Regions from separate parts of the Homo sapiens genome. Here regions 1 and 2 are each linked to region 3. Evidence: promoter capture Hi-C in human tissues and cell types (Jung and others, 2019). All regions are on one chromosome and are shown on one strand. Each heading gives the region's core, a stretch centred on a gene start or on the middle of the fragment in contact. The rest is flanking DNA. Distances are from core to core; before and after follow the strand shown. Region 1 overlaps ERBB3 (erb-b2 receptor tyrosine kinase 3). Region 2 overlaps PTGES3 (prostaglandin E synthase 3). Region 3 holds the start of APOF (apolipoprotein F).

What was found. Contacts are between HindIII fragments. The study calls those that stand out against the background at their distance.
Region 1: a contact is called between a fragment that was not itself captured here and the fragment with the promoter of APOF in region 3, in 1 of the 25 tissues and cell types used here (hippocampus).
Region 2: a fragment that was not itself captured here is called in contact with the fragment with the promoter of APOF in region 3 in 2 of the 25 tissues and cell types used here (liver and spleen).

The regions. Positions count from the first base shown.
Region 1 is chr12:56,086,399-56,091,001 of GRCh38, forward strand. It overlaps ERBB3 (erb-b2 receptor tyrosine kinase 3), which reads left to right. Exons shown (of 28, transcript NM_001982.4): 4 at 133-258; 5 at 1,179-1,244; 6 at 1,397-1,515; 7 at 1,623-1,764; 8 at 2,145-2,258; 9 at 2,350-2,470. Among named protein-coding and RNA genes, the nearest start is that of ERBB3, 8.5 kb to the left of the region's middle. The HindIII fragment of the contact is 6,453 bases long and covers 1-4,477 here.
Region 2 is chr12:56,662,722-56,667,524 of GRCh38, forward strand. PTGES3 (prostaglandin E synthase 3) reads right to left here. Exons shown (of 8, transcript NM_006601.7): 6 at 3,483-3,545; 7 at 2,055-2,079; 8 at 628-1,777. The coding sequence ends at 1,758. Among named protein-coding and RNA genes, the nearest start is that of ATP5F1B, 19 kb to the left of the region's middle. The HindIII fragment of the contact is 7,230 bases long and covers 1-4,803 here.
Region 3 is chr12:56,361,547-56,365,973 of GRCh38, forward strand. APOF (apolipoprotein F) reads right to left here and starts at 1,311. Exons shown (of 2, transcript NM_001638.4): 1 at 1,184-1,311; 2 at 1-643. The coding sequence starts at 1,199. The HindIII fragment of the contact is 13,203 bases long and covers 899-4,427 here.

The DNA of each region.
Region 1 (4,603 bases), core at 1-2,500, 280 kb before region 3:
ATTTAATTGGACCTATCTGTCTGCCTCATTCTCCCACTCCTGAGTCTCAGGTGTCCTTTTGGATGGGTGGAGAGGTAAGGAAGAGGCGTTCCGCTGCGGCCCTTAACCCTGTCACTTCTTTCCCTACCTCAGAGATTCTGTCAGGGGGTGTTTATATTGAGAAGAACGATAAGCTTTGTCACATGGACACAATTGACTGGAGGGACATCGTGAGGGACCGAGATGCTGAGATAGTGGTGAAGGACAATGGCAGAAGCTGTAAGTGGCCGTGATCAAGATTGCTCCCCAGTCCCACCAAACCAGAGTGACTCCCTTCTTTCCATCATCCTTACATTCCTGATCTGAACCCGCCTCCCCAGTGAACAAACACCTCAGGTCCCTGACTCAGCAGCCCACCAGGGCAGACCATTCCAGTCTCCTGGAATCTAAACCACAGAGGAGGTGTTTCAAGAAAAGGAGCAGGCCGAGCATGGTGGCTCATGCCTATAATCCTGGCACTTTGGGAAGCCAAGGTGGGAGGATCGCTTGAGCCCAGGAGTCCAAGACCAGCCTGAGTAACATAGCAAAAAATCTACAAAAAATTAAAAAAATCAGACAGGCGTAGTGGCTCGCACCTGTAATCCCGGCTACTCAGGAGGCTGAGGCAGAGGATTGCTTGAGCCCAGGAGGCTGCAGCTGCAGTGAGCTGTGATTGTGCCATTGTACTCTAGCCTGGGCAACAGAGTGAGACCCTGTCTCAAAAAAAAAAAAAAAAAATCCCTGAGTACTAAGCAGGGAAGCCAGATCTTTAGACTCCACATCTGTTACTCGTTCCACTAGAATATACTCCCATTTCCTTGGAGCCCACCTTCCCCTGACCATTCACATGCATATATTCCTGCATATATTCAGTTTGCCCAGGAGGAACTAAGTTCCTGGGTTGGGACTAGGACTAAGGTTGGCATTTGCCCCAGTCCCTCCCCTTCAGCTGCCCAGTGGGTGGTGTGGAGGCGTGGCCGCGCCCCTTGTTGACAGGTCCACTTGAGCCCAGCCCTGCTCTCCAAGGGCAGGGAGGGACACAGCCCTGGCTTTTTGCTTCCCGGGATTGAGGTGCCTGTGTACTGACATCATACCCCGTTGATTAAAACAAGCCTTTCTTAGCCCTGATGGCCCCTTGTGTTGCCTTCCTTCCCAACCAGGTCCCCCCTGTCATGAGGTTTGCAAGGGGCGATGCTGGGGTCCTGGATCAGAAGACTGCCAGACATGTGGGTTTGAAATTCCCTCCAAAAACTTCACTCATACGCTTTCATATCCCTTCCTCCCCAAGCCTGGGTCAACACTGTGGGGGAGGCATGAGCAGTGGCCTCAGAATTCAGTCCTAGGAGCCCTAACAGCCATGCTTTCTCTCCTTCCATAGTGACCAAGACCATCTGTGCTCCTCAGTGTAATGGTCACTGCTTTGGGCCCAACCCCAACCAGTGCTGCCATGATGAGTGTGCCGGGGGCTGCTCAGGCCCTCAGGACACAGACTGCTTTGTATGTACCCTTTCCATTGCCTGGGTTCTGAAATTGGGATGTGGCCTTTGAGGAGGAGGTAGGGGTACACACGTAACATAAATCTGATGAGCCTCCTTTTTTCCCAGGCCTGCCGGCACTTCAATGACAGTGGAGCCTGTGTACCTCGCTGTCCACAGCCTCTTGTCTACAACAAGCTAACTTTCCAGCTGGAACCCAATCCCCACACCAAGTATCAGTATGGAGGAGTTTGTGTAGCCAGCTGTCCCCGTAAGTGTCTGAGGGGAAGGAACAATGATCAACAATAGTAGATCCAAGATTTTAGACAAAATTGTGGAAGGGAAAAAGAATCCAGTTGGTGATAAATAGGGAGATTGGTGAATGGTTATGATCATCTAACCACTCCAGTGAGTGACCCTTACGTCCAGTCCTCCCATGACTTCAGCTATCACCCTTACTTCTGCTCCTTGTAGCAACAAATAGTGAAGAGACTTTTGAATCTATAGGGCAGCACTTAAGGGATCTAGGGTGGCAGATGGGGACAAATCCAGTGCAGAGCTGGAGGGAGCCTAGGCCCAGAGCAAGGGTTCCATTGGTAGCTGGTGATGTTCCTCCCTCATCTCTAATGGTGTCCTCCTCCTCTTCCCTAGATAACTTTGTGGTGGATCAAACATCCTGTGTCAGGGCCTGTCCTCCTGACAAGATGGAAGTAGATAAAAATGGGCTCAAGATGTGTGAGCCTTGTGGGGGACTATGTCCCAAAGGTGGGTAGGAGATGGTAAGAAGTTGTAAAGAGACAGCCTTTCCTCTGAGCCTGCGCAGACCACCCCCACTGAACCTCTCTTACATTTGCAGCCTGTGAGGGAACAGGCTCTGGGAGCCGCTTCCAGACTGTGGACTCGAGCAACATTGATGGATTTGTGAACTGCACCAAGATCCTGGGCAACCTGGACTTTCTGATCACCGGCCTCAATGGGTTAGAGATCCTGCCTTCCCTCCTTAGACCCCAGCCCACGCACCCCTCACAGTTCATTTCATTGGCCAAAACTTTCCTATGTGGAGCTGACTAGGAATCAAAGTCATAAAATTCTAGCCTGTTACAAAGGACCTGAAAGAATGCTTAACACATCCTCCATCCAGGCCTTCGGTCCCCTCAGGAACATCTTTGAGCAATTCAATATCGCCCTGCCAAGGAACAAGGGACAGGAACAACATATCCTCCTTCTTAAAGTTTTCTTTTTTATTCTTTTTTCTTTTTTGAGATAGGGTCTTGCTCTGTCACCTAGGCTGGAGTGCAGTGGCGTGATCTCGACTCACTGTAGCCTCGACCTCCTGGGCTCAAGTGATCCCAAGTAGCTGGGACTATAGGCACACACCATCATACTTGACTAATTTTTTTGTATTTTTTTGTAGAGACAGGGTCTTGCTATGTTGCCCAGGCTGATCTCGAACTCCTGTGCTCAAGCAATCCTCCCATCTTGGCCTCCCAAAGTGCTAGGGATCACAGCACCCAACCTCCTTCTTAAAGTTTTGTAAAAGTTCTTCCTTAGATTTGGATAAAAATCTGTCTCCAGGCTGGGCCCGGTGGCTCATGCCTATAATCCCAGCACTTTGGGAGGCCGAGGTGGGCGGATTACGAGGTCAGATCGAGACCATCCTGGCTAACATGGTGAAATGCCATCTCTACTAAAAACACAAAAATTAGCTGGGTGTGGTGGTGCACATGCCTGTAATCCCAGCTACTCAGGAGGCTGAGGCACGAGAATCACTTGAACCCAGGAGGCGGAAATTGCAGTGAACCGAGATTACACCACCGCACTCCAGCCTGGCGACAGAGCGAGACTCTTTCTCAAAAAAAAAAAAGAAAAGAAAAGAAAATTCTGTCTCCCCATGACTTTTAGCTGTTTTCACTCATTCTGCTCCTTGGAGCAAAAAGAACAAAGGGACTTTCTAGTCTATAGGACAGCATTTAAAATGTGTGTGTGTGTGTAAAAAAAACCCACTATGACCACCTGTTTTTTTTTTTCCTTTAATTTTTTATTTTGACATAATTTTAGATCTACACTAAAGTTGCAAGAATGGTATAAAATTCCCCATATACTTTTTTTTTTTTTTTAAGACAAAGTCTCACTCTGTTCCCCAGGCTAGAGTGCAGTGGTGCAATCTTGGCTCACTGCAACCTCCGCCTCCTCTGCCTCCCGGGTTCAAGCAATTCTCCTGCCTCAGTCTCCTGAGTAGCTGGAATTATAGGTGTGTGCCATCATGCCCGGCTAATTTTTGTATTTTTAGTAGAGACAGGGTTTCACCATGTAGGCCAGGCTGGTCTCGAACTCCTGACCTCAAGTGATCCACCCGCCCCAGCTTCCCAAAGTGTTGGGATTACAAGTGTGAGCCACCGCGTCTGGCCCCCCATACACTCTTTTACCCAGATCCTCCAAATGTTAACATACCACATATGGCCGGGCACAGTGGCTCATGCCTATAATCCCAGCACTTTGGGAGGCTGAGGCAGGTGGATCACTAGGTGTGGATCACGAGGTCAAGAGATTGAGACCATCCTGGCCAACATGGTGAAACCTCATCTCTACTAAAAATACAAAAATTAGCTGGGCGTGGTGGTGTGCGCCTGTAGTCCCAGTTACTCAGGAGGCTGAGGCAGGAGAATAGCTTGAACCTGGCAGGCAGAGGTTGCAGTGAGCCGAGATCGCGGCACTGCACTCCAGCCTGGTGAAAGAGCGAGACTCTGTCCCCCGCCAAAAAAAATACCACATACGCTTTATCACTTCTCTCTCTCTCTGTCTCTCTCTACACACACACACACACACACAAAACACATGCTATTGTTTTTCTGGACCACGTGAGGGTAAATTTTCACACATGGTTCTTTCTTACCCCTGTTATATTTCAGCGTATATTCCTTAAAAATAATATTTTCTTACATAACCACAGCATAGTTGTTTGAATCGGAAAATTAACATTAACACAAAATATTATCTAAGCTACAGACCTTATTCAGATTTCACTAATTGTCCTCCTAAGGTTTGGGATCATACATTACATTCAGTTATCGTGGCACTTCAATCTCCTTTATAACAGCTCCTCAGGTTTT
Region 2 (4,803 bases), core at 84-2,583, 300 kb after region 3:
GCTGGGTACGTGGAGTGCGCCTATAATCCCAGCTAGTCAGGAGGCTGAGGCAGGATAATCGATTGAACCTGGAGGGTGGAAGTTGCACTGGGCAACAGGGCAACACTCCGTCTCCAAAAAAAAAAAAAAAAAAAAAAAAAAGGGAGTTTCACCACATTGCCCAGGCTGGTCTCAAGCAATCTGCCCGCCTCAGTCTCCCAGAGTGCTGTGATTAAAGGCAGGTGGGAGCCACCGTGCCGGCCTGTATAATGCGTTTCAAGGCTGGGCAGTAAGCCAGTGAATCATTAATTCCCAAAACTGAAGTATAAATTTTTTGAAGAAAAACAAGTTTTTTTAAAATGTTTTCCCCCCTGAAGCTAAGAACTACACATCGTAATACATTATGCGTATCTATTATCGCACTTTCCATCAAGTTTTTGTCTCATGTTTGTCTCCCCTAGCCTGTGAGCTCTCTGAGCTCAGCAATCATCTGAAATATTAATCTTTGTATCACCAGCACTTTAACTGCCTGCAACACAGGTCCTGAATATCTGACAAAGAAACACTAAAATACATAGTGTTTCTACATTATGACAAATACAGAAGCTGTGAGGGAATGAAAACTGCCAAAATGCAGAAGTTCAAAGATTTAGGAGGACAACACATTTAGTTTTATTTCAATCAAATCACACAACACTTTCTTTTCCAACTGCTGCAAAGTGCATCTACAATATGCTATTACAGATCCACTTTTAAAAGGTTTCCTGTGACATTACAGCAAGCCTCTTTTTTCAAACAGAGGAATAATCCCAAATTCTTCCTCAAATAAACTCCATTCCAGTAAATGGTAAATACATAAAAATTACAGTAAGCCAGACACTTAAAAGGACAGCCAAGAAGTCTTCCAACAGTTTATTAGAAAGAATGTAGACATTTAAAAAAATCCCCACTGTCATGAACATAAATTGAGGTTTTCAGCCCGGGTATAAGCTGAATCAAAAAAAGGAAATAAAAAATCCAATAGTGTATTAAACATTTTTCACTCATTTGCCATACTGACAGTGCAAATACAAATCTGGACTAAATGTACAGACTCTCAAGCAACAATGTACAGCTTTCTTCGTCCTCCATGCTAAGAGATGTAAAAGCTTAAGGGTCAAACAATACCAATTGTATAGGCTTCAAAAACCATCTAAGTTAGGGCATTCTCTAGTTTTAGCTAAGATACACCTGGAACACTGACAAGTCATCACTTACATAGAATAATGTGAAGTAAATTTTTTGAAAAATAAATTTTAGTGGAACAATCCTGAAGGATAACACCAGAAGAATAGCAGGTTACCAGTAAGGTGTCAGCCAATTTGTTCCAGTCACTTTTGAATCCATGTTCTATAATCTAAAATTTATTCTCTTTCCCTAAGCTGAGAGCTTCCTATCATGTCAGTATCTATGTTATGAAGAAAAGGAGACTTAGGTGAGATGTTTTTATTTATCGCAACTGCTGCATTAATTGCCTAGGACCTCAACAGCTTCATGAAAGTCTGGGAAATGTTCATGCATAAGGTTATTGCCTTAGCTGACTTAAAATTGCCCCATACAATGGTACATATCAACCCTTAGTGAAGCCTTTTAAAAAACAAACAGGTTGAAAAATGGGTTAAAGTAGGCAAATACAGCATATCTGCCTTTAGAGCTATCAACTCAGGAATTCTCTCAATTATGAAATCTTGCAGAGAAGTTATTTTTCTTTCTCAAAATCCAGGTGATGACAATATTCCTTACTCCAGATCTGGCATTTCTGAAAGAATTTTTAAAAATATTAGTATATAGTACAAGTGAATAATCTACCAATTTTACTGTCTTAAAGGAAAAGCAACCAAAAATCGAAATACATAGTTGCCCAATGAATTAATAGGTTGTCTTGCTATCAAGTTATTCACATTTCTGCTTTGGTTATTTATTCAAGGTCATAAAGAAAAAATTACTTTACTTCCAAAGAAGTTAACATCTCTATTTTGAGTTTGTTTTTTGATGCAAAGTATCACTGTATAAACATACTTTTTATATACACTTACTTTCATCATCACTGTCTTGTGAATCCTGAAAGAGGGAAAATAAAGTTACCGAGCTGATCAAATATTCGTTTGCTAACTGAACAGTTTACCTAAAAAAGTTCAAGTGCTATATTTTTGACTAAAGTAGCACAGGTAGGTAGTCATATCAAGCCTAGAAATTTAGTCATTGGACTTGACTAGGTTTACCTAAGGTGAATGGATGTACAGCAGAGGATTTATCTACCTATAAAAAATGATGTGTGCCTTTTGGTGACAATTTAGCCCACCCGTTGAATCCATTCCTAAATTAACCTATCTCGGCATTCAAAGAGAAAACATGGATCAATATGAAGAAAAATGGACTGATAGAAGACAGTGAACTCTAATCCTAGCTGTTGAGTGAATATTAAGTGTTTTTCTAAATAGCATTAAATAACTTTCTGGGAGATGTTAACAGGATGCTGGGGTTGGAAAGATGTTGAGAAAAGTAGTTTAGTGTATCTTCCTCTTACAGATTTCCAATGTCCATCTTTTTTTTTTTTTTTTTTTTGGGTGGGGGGAGATGGAGTCTTGCTCTGTCACCCAGGCTACAGTGCAGTGGCGAGATCCGGCTCACTGCAACCTCTGCCTCCCGGGTTCAAGCGATTCTCCTGCCTCAGCCTCCCAAGTAGCTGGGATTACAGGCACCCGCCACCATGCCCGGCTAATTTTTGTATTTTTAGTAGAGATGGGGTTTCGCCATCTTGGCCAGGCTGGCCTGAAACTCTTGACCGCATGATCCACCCATCTCCGCCTCCCAATGTCCATCTGTTTTATCGGTCTCTGACCAATCCTGACATAAAACCTATTTAACTTACTTTCTTAGTCAAAATCATACCTATAAACTGACTCTCTTCTTTCTTTTTGAGATGGAGCCTCGCTCTGCTGCCCACACTGGAGTGCAATGGTGTGATCTTGGCTCACTGCAACCTCCGCCTCCCAGGTTCAAGCGATTCTCCCACCTCAGCTCACCAGTAGCTGGGATTACAGGCACCTGCCATCATGTCTGGCTAAGTTTTTAAGACAGGGTTTCACCATGTTGGCCAGGCTGGTCTCGAACTCCTGACCTCACGTACTCTGCCCACCTGGCCTGCTGGGATAACAGACATGAGCCACCTCGCCCGGCCTAAACTGACTGTTATAATTGAGTACGGTATTAATATATAATGTCTCTATACAATGATTCTTTGGAAATCTAATCCATTTAGGAATGGTCTACGGTACAACCAGTTCCCTAATAGATACCCCCATTCGTCAAAAATGGGCACATTTTAAAAATTGCTTTTCCCTTTTCTTTTTTTTTAGAAAATAAGAAGTAATTGTGAATCTATATAAAACCATTTGTAAATATGTTGTTTCTTACTATTTAATAGTATGAAAGTAAACAGAAAAAAGAATTTTTAGACTTACATCATCTGCTCCATCTACTTCTGGTAAATCTACATCCTCATCACCACCCATGTTGTTCATCATCTATTTGAAGTGTAAAAATTAGTTTTAAAAATGATGTTAAGTTAGGCCCTAATTATTAATGCTGTATGCTTCAGAATAAACCTTAAGTCTGCCACAGATATCAAAAAATGCAAAATGCAAATATAAGCATCTTTCCCTTCTGGAAAAGGAAGATTATAGGTAATTATACAAAATCCTAAAAACCCATATGGAAATTAAAACTAAATTTTCCCTAAAGAAAAGCAAAGCTATTCATGCAACAGGTTTGACAAACATTAAAAATTCTACTTGAGTAGTGGTTACCTCTGGTGGTTAAGGAAAAGAATGGGATTCATTTGTAGTTGCACAGCTATCTATCTTAAGTTAGGTGGAACATGTATTAAGGTATTCTTTTTTTTTTGAGACAGAGTCTAGCTTTGTCGTCCAAGCTGGAGTATGGTGGCGTGATCTCAGCTCACTGCAACCTCCGCCTCTGGGTTCACGCAATTCTCATGCCTCGGCCTCCAGGGTAGCTGGGATTACAGGCGCGTACCACCACACCCAACTAATTTTTTGTATTTTGGTACACACGGGGTTTCACCATGTTGCCCAGGCTGGTCTCGAATTCCTGGGCTGTAGTGATCCACCCACCTTGGCCTCCCAAAGTGCTGGGATTACAGGCGTGAACCACCATGCCAAGCCTTTTTTATTTTGAGATGGAGTCTTGCTCTGTTGCCCAGGTTGGAGTGCAGCAGCACAATCTCGGCTCACTGCAACTTCCGCTTCCCGGGTTCAAGGGAGTCTCCTGCCTCAGCTTCCTGAGTAGCTGGGATTACAGGCAGATGCCACCACGCCCAGTTAGTTTTTGTATCTTTGGTAGAGACAGGGTTTTACCATATTGGCCAGGCTGGTCTTGAACTCCTGGCCTCAAGTGATCCCCTTGCCTCGGCCTCCCAAAGTGCTGGGATTACAGGAGCAAGCCACTGTGCCAGGCCTGGTATTCTCATCATGGTTTTAGATATTGTGAAGAACCAAGAAATGATTTAAACTTAAACTATTATCAGATGATGAGAAACTTATTTTCTCAAGTTTAAACCATTTTTGTAATGTTTAAATTTTAGAAAAATAAAATCACATATGCATGGAAAAAAAATCAAACTTCAAAAATACATGATTACCCAGATTTTAGAATGGGAAAGGACCTTAAAAAGATAGTCAAACATACAATGGAATGTGTTCAGCCTAAAAGTATCATTCAGCCTTAAAGAAAAAAATCTGCCTTATGTGACAAAACACAATG
Region 3 (4,427 bases), core at 61-2,560:
TCTATGGCCCCATCTCGGCCTCGTTCCCTGGCCTTGCCCAGGCAGTTTTGAGTAGCATAATACAAAGCTGTGCCCAGGTTGTAGAAGGTTCCCACTCCTGGCAGCAGCTGGACTACATTGTGCACAGCTTGCTCCTTCTCATTCTCACAGTCCTCTGTCGGGAGGGAGCGCCCGACCCTTCCTGTGCTTTGCTGCTCCCTGGCTAACAGCTGCAGAGCAGAGGCCAGGGCTTCCACTGACACGTTCCTCTCTGTGCTTCTGCCTTTCTGGAGCCCTCGAAGATGCTGGATGAGGACCTGTGTAGCATTCACACCACCCTGGCGGTAGAGCTGTAGCTGTAGAGCCCAAACATCAGCCTGACAACCAGCTTCCTCCAGGGCATTCCTTAGAGCCAGGCTTACCAAGAACTTGGGTAGAGGGGCCATGTGGCTGAAACCAGGCAGTGACTTTGGGTGCAGAAATTGGCAGGACAAGGGGTCTGAGGAGGGTGTCTGGGATTCCAAGGACAAGGGAAAGTGCATCAAGACATTTGTCTGCTTTCCATATGAAGTGGCATCCACAGGGTGCAGCAGGAGGTAGCAAAGTAGCAGCTCAACTGGTATCATGATGAGTCTGAGGCCACGCATGTCTGGAGCAGAGTACCCTAGAAAGGGGAGAAATCCGAAACATACAAACCATTTCCCTAAGGGCGATGGTGAGCCCAAGACTCAGTTAGGGGGACACCTCATACATCACCTGCTTCCAAGCTTTTGTACTTTCTTTTTAGAGACAGGGTCTTGCTCTGTTGCCCAGACTAGAGTGCAGTGATGGGATCACAAATCACTGCTGCCTTGAATTCCTGGGCTCGAGGGATCCTCCTGCCTCAGCCTCCCAAGCAGCTGGGACTACAGGTGCGTGACACCATGCCCAGCTAATTTTTAAATTTTTTGTAGAGACGTGGTTTTGCCATCTGGCCCAGCCTAGTTCTGAACTTTGGGCTCAAGTGATCCTTCCACCTCCGCCTCCCAAAGTGATAGGCTTCCAGATGTGAGCCACCGCGCCTGGCCCCAAGCTTCTGTTCTTTTTAGGTAAAGGCCTAGGAAATAGGAAATGCACCCCAGTTGCTCCCACTTGGTCTCCCCCATTTACAGGTCACCAGGGACTTCTGTTTTATTTCCACCCATATATAGGGACCCCAAATTACCACACAGTCCAGTCATTGAGAAGTGAGACTGCCTTGGTAGGTTTGATCGCTTCCTGATCCTGTTCTGCCTAGTTCTGTGTCCCATGAGGAAAGGAGATATTTGCTTTCCCCTATGATCAGTGAAGGATGTAATCTCTGCAAATATTTGCCCATTTATACTGGCTGCTCAAACCTTGTGCCCCTTGTCACACACTCAACCTCTATGCCTACAGTCCTGTTCTTTGGCATTTCCTGTATGTCCCTGCCACATTCCCACTCTAAGCTCATGATAGGAGCCAGGGAAATTCAGAATTAGGAAAGATGAGATGTTTGTGATACTCTCATTTCTCTTCATTTTAAAAATTAAATTAGCGGCTGAGCATGGTGGCTCACGCCTGTAATCCCAGCACTTTGGGAGGCCAAGGCGGGCGGATCACAAGGTCAGGAGTTCGAGACCAGCCTGGCCAATATGGTGAAACCCTGTCTCTACTAAAAAAAAAAAAATATATATATATATATATATATATATACACCCAGGCGTGGTGGTGGGCGTCTGTAGTCCCAGCTACTCAGGAGGCTGAGGCAGGAGAATTGCTTGAACCCGGGAGGTGGAGGTTGCAGTAAGCCAAGATCGCACTACTGCACTCCAGCCTGGGTGACAGAGTGAGACTCCGTCTTAAAAAAAAAAAAGGAGGGGAGCTGACACCTACTAAGTGGAGAGGGGCAAGGCTAACACTGGTCACATATGTGTTTAAGGGAAGAGGTGAAATAAAGAGCATTCATCTGTCCTAAGTGGTCTCCAACATTTCTAACTACTTACTGTGTGCCATCCTTGAATACAGTCCTGGGAAAGGAGACTCATTACTTATGTGATATTGAATAGCTGAAATGAGCCGGGATCAATTCCTGGATCATTTTCCTCACAAAGCACTTCAGAATAGCTGTGGAACATTTGATAGATTATATTGTCACTGTCCATGGACAATTTAAATGATCTTGAGAGCTTCTTCAACTTTTTGCCTAATTCTTCAATATGCTCCCAAGACTCATACCTGCAGTTCTTGGTGATGTGGACACCCAAAACTTTGAACTGTGACACCAAGCATCATGGGAGATGGTTTCTCAGCAAACTCAATCACCATCTGAGCTACCTGGTAGGCCAGCTACCCCAGTGGGTATATTTGCCACCATCCATACATTTCCCAGGATGGGCAGCTGGGTGCTGGGTTTATTCACACTTCCCTAAGGGACTACTAGATTCGTCACAATGATGTTGGTATTGCCTTCCTCCCCATTGAACTTTTTGACTCTCACGGATGAGGGTTTCAGTGGTATCCTTTCCTCGCATCTGAAACTGCAGAACATGGGCCTCAGTTGGGCAGCCCACCTCCTCCAAGGGCACCCTCAGAGCTAAGTTGGACAGGTACTCAGGCAGAGGGGCTAGGGAGGGGGCTGTGTGTAAGAGATCTTGGCAGATCCTGGGATCTGGGAGAGGAATCTGGCTCTCCATGTTCTCCAAATAATGGAGAGCATGTTTGATGGATGCCCAGTCTCTGTTAAAGATGGCTGGAGGGTCAGAGTCTCATTCTGAGCATTTCTTGGAAAGGCAGACACCAGGGACAGCAGGACACAGCAAAGCAGCAGCACAGCTTGGACCATGGGGGGACAGCAGAGCAGCCCTGCTGGAAGGAAGCAGTGCTCAGGTTGGGAAGTGGAGAAAGGCTCAGGACAAAGAGACACCAAGACTGGCCAGAGCTAGAAAGTGTCTTAGCTCTTGGAAACTTCGGTTGCCCTGAGCACACCTCATCTTCACTCTTAAAGGATGTGGGTGATCCTCCTATTTTGAGGAGAAACAAGTCAGAGGAAAAAAACAGTCCAAACATCTCATTTGCTTTGGTATCTTCATGACCTGAATTACTATTATTGTTGTTGTTGCTGTTTTTAATCTGCCCTTTCCCAGAATCACAAGGAAACCAGAAAGTTGATGGCTTCCAAAACAGTGAAGGACAAAACATTTGCAAATATTTATGCATCTCTTCCCAGCCCAGACTTTGTCCTTCTCACCTTTGACCCATACTGACAAACTGACCTTTCCCCTTTTAGGCCCTGCAGTCCTGTCCCATATCTTTTTTTTTTTTTCTTTTTCTTTTTCTTTTCCTTTTTTTTTCTGGAGACACAGTCTCACTCTGTTGCCCAGGGTAGAGTGCAGTGGCACGATCACAGCTCACTGCAACCTCCACATCCCGGGTTCAAGCGATTCTTGTGTCTCAGTCTCCCTAGTAGTTGGGATTACAGGCACGCACCACCATGCCTGGCAAATTTTTGTTTTGTTTTGTTTTCTGGAGACAGTCTCACTCTGTTGCTCAGGCTGGAATGCAATGGCGTGATCTTGGCTCACTGCAACCTCCACTTCCCAGGTTCAAGAGATTCTCTTGCCTCAGCCTCCCGAGTAGCTGGGACTACAGGTGTGCGCCACCACGCCTAGCTAATGTTTTTGTATTTTTAGTAGAGATGGAGTTTCACCATGTCAGTCAGGCTGGTCTCAAACTCCTGACCTCGAATGATCTGCCTGCCTCGGCCTCCCAAAGTGTTGGGATTACAGGCGTGAGCCACGGCACCCAGTGACATATCTTTTCTATCCTAAGGTTTTACCCTAAACCTATATTTGAGCTGAGGAAAAGGTCCTCCGTATCTTCTTGAGGGGAGAAAGGGTAAGGCAGAATAGCTGGTGATCTCTGGGACCCCTAAACCATTTTTCTTTTCTTTTTTTTTCTGAGACGGAGTTTCGCTCTTGTTGACCAGGCTGGAGTGCAATGGCGCGATCTCAGCTCACTGCAACCTCCGCCTCCCAGGTTCAAGTGATTCTCCTGCCTCAGCCTCCCAAGTAGCTGGGATTACAGGCGTGTGCCACCATTCCCGGCTAATTTTGTATTTTTGGTAGAGACGGGGTTTCTTCATGTTGGCCAGGCTGATCTTGAACCCCTGACCTAAGGTGATCTGCCCACCTTGGCCTCCCAAAGTGCTGGGATTACAGGCTTGAGCCAGCCACAGCGCCTGGTCACCATTTTTCTTATTAAAAGAATATATTGGTTGGGAAGCCAAGGCAGGCAGATGGCTTGAGCCCAGAAGTTTGAGACCAGCCTAGGCAACATGGCGAAAGCCCCGTCTCTACAAAAATTATAAAAATTAGCCAGGAGTGGTGGCATGCACCTGTAGTCCCAGCTACTGGGGAGGCTGAGGTGGGAGGATCACCTGAACCTGGGGA